4 separate regions of the Homo sapiens genome follow, and regions 1, 2 and 4 are each linked to region 3. The links are contacts of gene promoters, found by promoter capture Hi-C in blood cells and fetal thymus (Javierre and others, 2016). All regions are on one chromosome and are shown on one strand. The core of a region is centred on a gene start or on the middle of the fragment in contact, and the rest is flanking DNA. Distances in the headings are between cores, read along the strand shown. Region 1 overlaps XPO1 (exportin 1). Region 2 overlaps USP34 (ubiquitin specific peptidase 34). Region 3 holds the start of REL (REL proto-oncogene, NF-kB subunit). Region 4 overlaps USP34 (ubiquitin specific peptidase 34).

The links. The method cuts DNA at HindIII sites, captures the fragments that hold promoters and counts their contacts. A CHiCAGO score of 5 or more calls a contact.
Region 1: a contact is called between a fragment that was not itself captured here and the fragment with the promoter of REL in region 3, in 2 of 17 cell types (total B cells and total CD4 T cells). The highest score is 5.3, in total B cells.
Region 2: a contact is called between a fragment that was not itself captured here and the fragment with the promoter of REL in region 3, in 2 of 17 cell types (activated CD4 T cells and non-activated CD4 T cells). The highest score is 5.6, in activated CD4 T cells.
Region 4: a fragment that was not itself captured here is called in contact with the fragment with the promoter of REL in region 3 in 1 of 17 cell types (total B cells); the score reaches 6.0 in total B cells.

Annotation. Positions count from the first base shown.
Region 1 is chr2:61,486,539-61,489,238 of GRCh38, forward strand. It overlaps XPO1 (exportin 1), which reads right to left. Exons shown (of 25, transcript NM_003400.4): 18 at 2,050-2,233; 19 at 1,627-1,733. Among named protein-coding and RNA genes, the nearest start is that of USP34-DT, 17 kb to the left of the region's middle. The HindIII fragment of the contact is 1,111 bases long and covers 759-1,869 here.
Region 2 is chr2:61,461,365-61,464,064 of GRCh38, forward strand. The region is part of intron 1 of USP34 (ubiquitin specific peptidase 34); the gene reads right to left. Among named protein-coding and RNA genes, the nearest start is that of USP34, 8.4 kb to the right of the region's middle. The HindIII fragment of the contact is 4,536 bases long and covers 1-2,700 here.
Region 3 is chr2:60,880,188-60,882,887 of GRCh38, forward strand. REL (REL proto-oncogene, NF-kB subunit) reads left to right here and starts at 1,387. Exons shown (of 10, transcript NM_001291746.2): 1 at 1,387-1,663. The coding sequence starts at 1,654. REL-DT (REL divergent transcript) reads right to left here and starts at 1,127. Exons shown (of 3, transcript NR_033980.1): 1 at 1,045-1,127. RefSeq lists a silencer at 982-1,521 and an enhancer at 1,130-1,799. The HindIII fragment of the contact is 7,860 bases long and covers 1-2,700 here.
Region 4 is chr2:61,420,494-61,423,193 of GRCh38, forward strand. It overlaps USP34 (ubiquitin specific peptidase 34), which reads right to left. Exons shown (of 80, transcript NM_014709.4): 2 at 253-340. Among named protein-coding and RNA genes, the nearest start is that of SNORA70B, 4.5 kb to the left of the region's middle. The HindIII fragment of the contact is 741 bases long and covers 896-1,636 here.

The sequences.
Region 1 (2,700 bases), core at 64-2,563, 610 kb after region 3:
CTCCGCCTCCAGGTTCACGCCATTCTCCTGCCTCAGCCTATCGAGTAGCTGGGAGTACAGGCACCTGCCACCACGCCCAGCTAATTTTTTATATTTTTAGTAGAGACGGGGTGTTTCACCGTGTTAGCCAGGATGGTCTTGATTTCCTGACCTCGTGATCCACCCAACTCAGACTAATGTTTTAATCTAATGAATGCTAACTGGTGAGTATTTTCACAAGCAGAAATAACATCAATCAATTACTCTCAGAAAATAAGAAAGACTATGGATTTCTATTATTTTTTTGAAACTGAATCTTGCCATGTTGCCTAAACTGGACTTGAGCTGGGGTGATTCGCCTGCCTTACCCTCCCTGGTGGTTGGGATTACAGGTGCATGCTACAATGCCCAGTAAGATTTTCATGATTCTAAGTAAACTGAGTTATACTTAAAGAGTAACTTCTTGTTCTTTTTTTTTTTTTGAGACGAAGTTTCCCACTTGTGGCCCAGACTGGGGTGCAATGGCGCAATCTTGGCTCACTGTCACCTCCACCTCTGGGGTTCAAGTGATTCTCCTGCCTCAGCCTCCTGACTTCAAGTGATCCACCCGCCTCGGCCTCCCAAAGTGCTGGGATTACAGGCATGAGCCACCGTGAAAAGCCAAGACAAGGAAAATAAACACAATGTTTCATGTGAACAAATATCCCAAACTTTAACATTAATGTTACAAAAGATGATACCCTTTGTATTATTCCCACTGTGCTCCCGACACGTGCTCAAGCTTCTTGTAAATTACAAACATCACAATTCCTTCAATACATCTTACTTTCTGCTTTCAAATTTTAAATACAGTTCTGTTCACATAATACGCATGTTCAGAACCTTTCGATATTTAGGTTAGCCAACTTAAGTATTCCACAAGAATTATATTCAGAACAAGTTTACTGAAAAGTATTTCCTTAACAAGAAACAATACTGAAATTTCAAAACTATGAAAATAACTAGCACACTTGTAAAAAAAAAAACCAAAAAACAAAAAACCAACACTATTCCAAGTAATAGTAGTATTAGAATTTTTTGGACTCTCCCAAGGCTCAATTGAATAACAAGAATGAAACGATACAGTTAAAACCTAAAACTAATTCACAATTTTACAAGTTGAGGCATACGCAGCTGGTTTTTATTACTGAAAATGATTTCCTTTTCTGCAAATCATTTAGGAAAAAGGGTGTAAAAAAGACTTTCAGGCCTTTAATCTGGGAAGCAATCACTTTGCTAAAGAGGTAAAGTAATGACAACTTTGTAGCTCTAGCAATTGTTCTAAAAATCAAGAGGAATGCAAAAACTGCACCGGTACTCCATTAATTAAATCCTCCTAACCTATCTATGGAAACATAAAATGACCCAATTTTCTTAGCTATCTTGTTACATATCACCACCCTTCGCTACTGATTAACAGCAGTTTCTTTTGAAGATGGAATACAGCTATTAGTATATTAACGTAAGGACTACAATAAATAAAATGCCATAAAATAACCACAAAGTTGATATGCTTTAAATTAGCAAAATGCACATAATAGAGTATAGCATATTCCATAAAACACAGCATCAACACTAGAAATCAAAAGCAAAGCATCTCTCACTTACCATCTGTGGATCATTGGATCGGCTCACCCAACCAGATATTAACTTTAAAGTTTCCCTTTTTACAGTTCGCATACTTCTAATCAATGGTTGCTTTGTAACCATTTCACCTACAAAACAGAATCAAATGGAATCTAATTTTACCACTAAACTTATACAGTGGTACTCAGGTGTACATTAGATGCAATTCCATTTTACCATTAAAAAGTTTAAAGCCAAAAGTTCACAAAATTTATTGGGAAAATAAGCTTTAAGACTAATTTTAAAAGGGAAAGGTACACTTAACTGTTTTAAATATGTCTAGGGTCATTTGGGAAATGGGAGGTCTGATTTAAATCTGTAAAAAACATCAAATGTTTGACTTAAGGCAGTAGAAGAGAAGTGGTTTGTTTATACTGCATTGTGTAAGAAATCAGAATCACCTACCATTAGCTTGGATAGCTGCAGAAATATTTTCACTGAGGCACTTGTATACATTAAGCATATCTAAATAAATTCTTCCAAGCTGAATTACAAAGGGGTGTCCAACAGCTTTGCAGGCTCTCACATTTGTTTTCAAAATGCTACCAAGCTGCTTGACTGTTTCAGGATCTTTCAGTATATCCACATTCTTGGAGGAAAAAAAGCAAATTCCATTTATCATATAAGAATTATCCACGGCTGGGAACAGTGGCTCACGCCTGTAATCCCAGCACTCTGAGAGGCCGAGGCGGGCGGATGATGAGTTCAGGAGATCGGGACCATCCTGGATAACACGGTGAAACCCCGTCTCTACTAAAAATACAAAAAAAATAGCCAGGCGTGGTGGCAGCCGCCTGTAGTCCCACCTACTCGGGAGGTTGAGGCAGGAGAACGGCGTGAACGCTAGAGATGGAGTTTGCAGTGAGCCGAGATCGCACCACTGCACTCCAGCCTGGGCGAAAGAGCAAGACTCCGTCTCAAAAAAAAAAAAAGAATTATCCATCATAATGGCCAGGCGAGGTGGCTCACACCTATAATCCCAGCACTTTGGGAGGCTGAGTCGGGTGCATCACCTGAGGTCGGGAGTTCAAGACCAGCCTGACCAACATGGAGAAA
Region 2 (2,700 bases), core at 156-2,655, 580 kb after region 3:
CCTAGTGAACAAGAGCGAAATTCCGCCTCAAAAAAATAAAAAAAAAAACCCAAAACACTGAAATCTGAAATACAGAAAAAAAAACATACAATTCATTAAATAACAAAAATATGAATGGTTAAATTTACTAGTAATTGCTTAATACATTCTCTACCAAAATAACTTTTATTTTAAGAGATGAAGTCTTGCTATGTTGCCCAGGCTAGCCTTGAATTCCAGGGCTCAAGTGATCCTCCCACCTCAGCCTCCTGAGTAGCTGGGAATACTACAGGCACACATCACCATGCCCTGCTAAAATAACACTTTCTAAAGGATAATATTCAAGACAGGTGAAAGTGCCCTTACACAGGCACGACTACGACTAAAAGATCAATATATCCTTTCTGGCAAGCAAACAGTATGAAAATAATGAAAAATGTTTATATTTTTTGACACAGTAAACTCACGTCTAGAAATCTAAAAGAACCAGGGATGTAGATAAAAGATTTAAGTAGAAAGATGTACATTTGCGGCATTATTCATAATATGGGAGAACTGGAAACAGATATATTAAATTTTATATAAAATGAAATCTTATACAAAAACATGTTTTCAGCCAGACGCGGTGGCTCACACCTGTAGTCACAGCATTTTAGGGGGCCGAGGTGGGCAGATCATGAGGTCAGGAGTTCAAGACCAGCCTGGCCAACATGGTGAAACCTCATCTCTACTAAACGTAACAAAAATTAGTCAGGCATGGTGGCAGTTGCCTGTAATCACAGCTACCCAGGAGGTTGAGGCAGGAAAATCGCTTGAACCCGGGAGGCGGAGGTTGCAGTGAGCCAAGATCAGGCCATCGCACTCCAGCCTGGGGCAACAGAACAAGACTCCATCTCAGGGGGAAAAAAAAAAAAAAGAAAATCAGCCAGGCGTGGTGGCTCATGCCTGTAATCCCAGCAGTTTGGGAGGCCGAGGTGGGTGAATCACTTGAGGCTAGGAGTTTGAGAACAGCCTGGGCAAAACAGTGAAGCCCCATTCCTACAAAAAACACAAATATTAGCTGGGCATGGTGGTACGCACCTGTAATCCCAGCTACTTGGGAAGCTGAGGCAGGAGAATTGCTTGAACCCAGGAAGAGGAGGTTGAAGTGAGCCAAGATCATGCCACTGCACTCCAGCCTGGGCCACAGAGTAAGACTCCGTCTCCAAAAAAAAAAAAAAAATCAATTCAGGAGAACCGGACAAAGTAGCTCACACCCTGTAATCCCAGCACTCTGGGAGGCTGAGGCAAGCGGATCACTTGAGGCCAGGAGTTTGAGACCAGCCTGACCAACATGGCGAAACCCCATCTCTACTAAATATACAAAAATTAGCCCGGCATGATGGCACATGCCTATAATCCCAGCTACTTGGGAGGGTGAGGCACAAGAACTGCTTGAGCCCCCCAAGGCAGAGGGTGCAGTGAGCCGAGACTGTACCAATGCACTCCAGCCTGGGAGACAGAGGGAAACTGTTTCCCAAAAAAAAAAAAAAAAAGGCAGCCAGGTGTGCTGGTATACACACCTATAGTCCCTGCTACTCAGGAGGGTGAGACAGGAAAATCACTTGAGCCCAGGAGGTCAAGTTATAGTAAGCAATAATCACTTCATTGCACTCCAGCCTGGATGACAGAATAAGACTCCATCTCCAAAGGGGGGAAAAAAATTCCAACTTTAGATTAAATGTCTACTGAAAAAGTTATGTTACTAATTGATTTCGTACCTATATACTCATAGTATCTAAAAAGCTCTGGAAACATGTAGTTTTATTAAACGGTTCACTGCAGAATAACAGTATTAAGAAAGATTCTCAGCCGGGTACAGCATACCCCAACACTTTGGGAGGCTGAGGCAGGAGCATCACTTGAGCCCAGGAGCTTGAGGCTGCAGTGAGCTATAATTGGGCCACTGCACCCCAGCATGGGTGATACACTGTCTCTTAAAAAATAATCAAAAATCAAAAAATTTGAAATTTTATTCAATGAAAAAGATTCTTATTCAGCTATACTTATTACCACTTTTGAATTCCTACTACAATTATCACAGAAATTTGTCTGAATTTTTGAAGATACATAAAACACGGTCAGTAATTTTCACTTTGCCAACTGAACAGTGGTGATTCAGATAGATCATCATAAAATTTATACAATGTTAACTAGTAAGAACTTTTAGGCCAGGCAGGATGGCTCACACCCCTAAACCCAACACTTTGGGAGGCCAAGGGAGGCGGATTACCTGGGGTCAGGAATTCAAGACCATCCTGGCCAACATGGTGAAACCCCACATCGACTAAAATTACAAAAATTAGCCAGGCATGGTGGTGCATGCCTGTAATCCCAGCTACTCAGGAGGCTGAGGCAGGAGAATCGCTTGAACCCAGGAGGCGGAGGTTGCAATGAGCCGAGATCATGCCATTGCACACCAGCCTGGGCAACAGGAACAAAATTCCTTTTCAAAAAAAAAAAAAACTCTTAGCCTAATCTGGGATTAAGTCCTGTGGTTCCACCAAACAGTCACATGTGACCCTAAGCAAGTCACATAAATTCTCTAAACCTTAGTTCCCTCATCTGAAAAGGATGACAGAGTACCTCCCTCAAAGAACTGATTAAATCAGCAGCATGCAAAGCATGTAAAGTACTTAAGTACCCAACACAAACTATTCAATAAAGTAATCTGCTTTAAAA
Region 3 (2,700 bases), core at 137-2,636:
CTTTGGATAAAGACAATTAATAGGTATGTAATGGATTGTACGTGCCTGACCATATGAAAAGGTGAGATTTCCTTTTTTTTGGTCTTTGCACTCTCTTCAGTGGATTGCCTGTGATGTGCATCATGGTACGTTTTAGTACATATCCAATAATAAAACTGTTTCATTCTTTTGTTGTACATTGCGCATTTCGTGGAAAGAACAGTTTGGGGTTGGCAGGATATTTTAAATTATTTGCCCATATGGGTCCCCCAGTTTTGGGCACTTGTATGGCAGGCTGATATTCCCCATTACCTCTCCGTACTAATTTTAACTAGTAAGGGACAGGGGCAAGGGCATGGAGCTTTGGAGTCAGACAACCCTGGCTTTAAACTGTGCCTTTTATCAGCATTCTGAAGTACTGTATGTTGAAGTAACTTCTCTGAACCCCGAATACTTCATCTATAAAGTTAGGAATAATAAATACGTCATAGATTAAGTATGGACATTATCTGATGCATAGCAGGTACTATTCAAATGAAGGAAACGAAGTTATCCTAGGTCCTTTAATGCACTAAATGTGTGCTCCATTTCCGCCTTTCTTGGCATCTGTGTGAAATCTCAGGATATAGTGTCCACTAAACTTCAGTGCACTGCCTAATGAGACAACGAACTCCAAGTGCGGACCTTTTGAGTTTAAACGGGTTTCAGTAGGTAAAATACGTAAAGTTCACAGTACCCTCGCAATTTAGATGGAGGAAAAAAAATCAGTCGGGGGGGGGGTCCCCGTATGCAAATACAGGAATTACAGAAGAAGACAGGACCCCCGCCGCAGCACCACTTCCCCCTACAGGGCGCAACGTCCCGCCGCTGGCGCGGGGGTGGAGATTTGCATGTGCGAAGTCGGGAAGAGGGGGAACCACCTCTCGAAAACCCCGGCCGTCGCCCTCCCAGGCCGGGAGAGTCGGCCCCGCGCGCCCCCAAAAGCTCCCCAGCGGCCGGCCCTCTCTACGTCATCCGCACCCTCCCGCCCGCTCCTGAACTTTAAACCACACTCGGAAGAACAACCTGGAGGAGGGGGATTTCTCAGGAGCCAGCGGCCTTCTCACGCTGCTAGCCGTCACCTCCCGGCTCCCGCCGTTCCCTGCGCTCCCGAAGCCCACCCCAAGCTCCCGCTCCCTCGACCCCCTCCCAAGCCAGCCGCCGCAGCAGCGCCGGGGGCGTATGCGTGGGGGCCGGCGGGGAGCGTGCGCGGGGACAGGCAGGGGCGGGGCGCTGGGGGCGGTCGCGCGCGCGGCGGCCGCGAGGTCGCCCCGCCCACGCCTCCGGGTGAGGGTTGCTGCGTCGGGCCTACGTCAGCCGCGGGAAATTCCCCTCCCGCCAGGCTGCTCGCCTCTCGGCTGGGCCAGCACTCGGCTCTCCCCGCTCCGCCCCCTGCCCCTGGCTCCCGTACGGTGGACGGCGACGCTGGGTGACCCGGGGTGCAAGAATTCAGGGGTTGGGAAGGTGTGAGCCGCAAACCCAGCGGAGGGCGGGAAGAAGGAGGAGGCCTCTAGGGTGGTCGGGGGACTGGGGGCCCCGCCGGCAGAGGTCCCTCGGCCTCCTGACTGACTGACTGCGGCCGCCTCCGGCCAGGACGCTGGGAGCTGCCTGCGGGAAGGTGCGGGGAGCGGAGCCATGGCCTCCGGTGAGTGTTCATGGGGCGCGGGCCTGGGCCGGGGGAAAGGAGCTCTTCTGAAGGGGGTCCTGCCGCAGTGAGTTTAGGGAGCTCAGTTTTTGCTGGGGCGCGTTCTGTCTTTAAAATCTCATATGGTAAAATTGTCAGCTTTTAAAAAAGTTACCTGCTTCAGGGTTTGCGTGCAGAATCCAAGCCACGCTCTGTAATTCGATCCTGTTGTCATAGCAGGAACCTTAGAAATTCCCAACGACTTGATTTTAGGATTAGGGAAGTCATAAGCGAACCAAAGGAGGACGAAGAGTTCTCATTAAAAATGTATATGTATTGAAGATGGTGGTTTTATGTTTTAGAACAGGAATGAGGAACCTTCAGACCTCGGGCAAGCTCTCTCCCCCTTTTTAGTTTAATTTCATCAAATGCAAAGAGGTGATCCCCCTTGTACTGACAGTTGTACAAAATGTGTCACGGCTTTAAAAATCATCCGTGGTATTTTAACACGAATTAGAAAATCCGTGGTATTTTAAGTGTTAATGTTGCTTCGACCAAGTGTAGGCCGGGCGCGGTGGCTCATGCCTGTATTCCCAGCACTTTGGGAGGCCGAGGCGGGTGGATAACCAGAGGTCAGGAGTTTGAGACCAGCCTGGCAAACATGGTGAAACCCCGTCTCTACTAAAAATACAAAAATCAGCGGGGCGTGGTGGCGCGCGCCTGTAATCCCAGCTACTCGGGAAGCTGAGGCAGGAGAATCGCTTGAACCTGGGAGGTGGAGGTTGCAGTGAGCCGAGATCGCGCCCCTGCACTCCAGCCTGGGCGACAGAGGGAGACCCTGTCTCTATTTAAAAAAAAAAAAAATGTAGTTTTTACTGTGAGATAAAGCTCAAGGTTCCTAATCTGACGAATAGAGACGTTGAATCCCCCTTCCTCCTCGCTGGAAATAAGGGGAAAGAGGAGTTTTAGAATATCCGAGCTTTAAAATAATGAGTAGGAATGAATACAACTTTATCACTTATGTGACTATATATTTTCCCTTAATAAATGCTCGATCT
Region 4 (2,700 bases), core at 16-2,515, 540 kb after region 3:
TTCAGAATTTCTGTGACTCTCATATCCCTAAATAAGCAGGGGTCAAAGAAAGAAACTGATATTTATGCCCATGTTTTAAAAACAGAATCATGATCGACCTCATGAGTAAAGATTTAATAAATATTGACAAACTGTCATTTAGTAACTAATGGTATCTAACCCAACACCCTAAAAAGAAAATGTGACAATAAAAATCGCAACTTATAACACAACTCACAAAAATTAGTCTTCGAAATACCTAAAGATGCATACCTCTGTGTCCAGGAATTGATATAAGTAAATATTTTGAGAGTATGTTCCTTTCTGAGCTGCAGTCCATCACCACCTTCTACATCTGATACTGAAATAAAAAAGAAATTTTAAAATTATGAATAATGCTAAACCAGTATTAAAGCCAACAGTTCAAAATAAAGCCAAGAGCTACAAATGCAAACATTTCAGATAATCATTCTTTTGCTTCCAAAGAAAATAAGTCTACTTTTAATTAATAACTCATATGGACTTAAGAACAGATTTTTGACAGATGTAAGGGGTGGGGGGGGCAGTGAGACTTTGCCACTTATTCTGGGATTATCTCTCATCTCCAAAACCAGCCTTCCGTTGTGATGCTGAGGCTGGGACCATGCAATCTACATTTTTCATTTCCAGCTGTCTTCCTGTTAAGATCTTGTTCTCCAGTGCCTATAGGGTACTAGAAGAAGAAGGCAGGAGGAGAGACCAAAGACTTGTCAGCTTGCTATATCTGAAAGCAGCAGCACTGATTCCAGCCTCCAGCTTAGTATTCCAAGAACCAGTCTCATGGTACTCCTCTCAGAGGTATCAGCAGTAGCCACAGAGCATACCTTCCTTGAAGTCACAGCTTCCTTCACACGGCGTTCCTCTTTTGATATGAGGAAGCTTGAGAACATTCAGTTCTCATTAAAAGACCATTTCCCAAAATAATAAAAATTGAACATAACCATTCTTATAATTCCATCATTTTAATGGCTTTTACCTTCTTTGGCTGGTCCACACAGCTTTACAAAGTAGAAAACATAAGGGTCTTTGAAGCCACTAAACCAATTATTATGTATGTACAAGAAAGCATTTTTGAGGCTTATCAGCTTTCTTACTGTTTCTTTATATATTGCTAGTGTCTTCTCTTTAATCCCAAGAAATCTTGCCTGGATCACTGTATCACATTAACGTGAGGAGGGGAAATCCCCTATGAAGCAGTAATATGTCCTACTATACCAGTAAGTTTCCTGTACCAAATATATATGAGGTTAGTTTACATTTAAAACACACACACACACACACACACACGCGCGCGCGCGCACCTTCTACTTAATCAGACTACATACACAATGTTGAGACTTACAGCACACTTCCTCAACTCAGCTCCAGAAATGCTGGTAAGCTGAACTAGGAGGTTGGAAGATTCCTCTCTGGTAATACTGATTAACCAAAAAGGGGTTTAAAAAAAAATTACCTTGGTCAAGGAGAAAAGGAAACGGCGTAAGGCCAAAATACATGTAAAACAGTCACAAGGTAGTAACACCTACACCCAAGACCAGGCTTTTGGGACCTAGATCACATCTGAGGCCCTGGAAGCCGAAGACACTACTGACCATCAGGGAGAAGACCTGGGCAACAAAGCTTAGCAACTAGGACAGAATAAGATATAGTTGGGGCCTAAGATGAAGCAACCACTAAAAACAACCTCTTGCATTGTATGATTTCAACAAGGTGAAGAAGGGATCACAGTACGCCATGCCAGTTTTCCTTCCCCAGCCATAACAGTGCCTAAAAACAGAGGGAAGAGTGGCTACAACCATCATATCCTACTCTAACAAAAAACACACACGGCACACATTCTGAAAAAAAGTTTGTGTGGCCAGAAAACCATCCTCACCAGAGGCCCGCCTGACAGCCTAGCTGCTAACCAACAAAAACTTTCCAACTCATTCCATCCAACCCAGAACCAGAAAGGCAAGTGAAGGACATTTCATCAGAGTAGAGTTCTCCAAACACACAGCTATCATCATACTCAAAGGTGAAAGCCCAAAAGCTTTTCCTCTAAGATTAGGACCAAGATAAGGTGGTCACTTTCACAATTTCTATTCAACACAGTATTAGAAATTCTAGTCAGAGCAATTCAATGAGGAAGAAAATGGAAAGAAATCAAGTCACTTCTGTCCACAGATAACATGAACCAACAGAAAACCCTAAGGATTACACAAGAAGAACTGTTAGAACTAACAGCCGGTAATCCCAGCACTTTGGAAGGCCAAGGCGGGCAGATCACTTGAGCTTAGGAGGTCAAGACCAGCCTGAGCAGCATAGTGAAACCCCATCTCTACGAAAAATATAAACAATTAGCCAGGCATGGTGGTGCACACCTCTGGTCCCAGCTACTGAGGAGGCTGAGGTGGAAGGATCACTCGAACCTGGAAGGTTAAGGCTGAAGTGAGCCGAAAAAAATCAGTGGCTTCCATTAAACTGCAGTTTGCATTTCAGCATTCCAACCTGGGTAACAGAGTGAGACCCCCTCTCAAAAACAAACAAACAAAAAATAAGTGAATTCAACAAAGTTACAGGATACAAATTCAAAACACAAAAATCAGATATACTTTTGTCTTTTTAAATTTTTGGTTTTTTGAGACAGTCTCACTCTTTTGCCCAGGCTGGAGTGCAGTGGCACAATCTTGGCTCACTGCA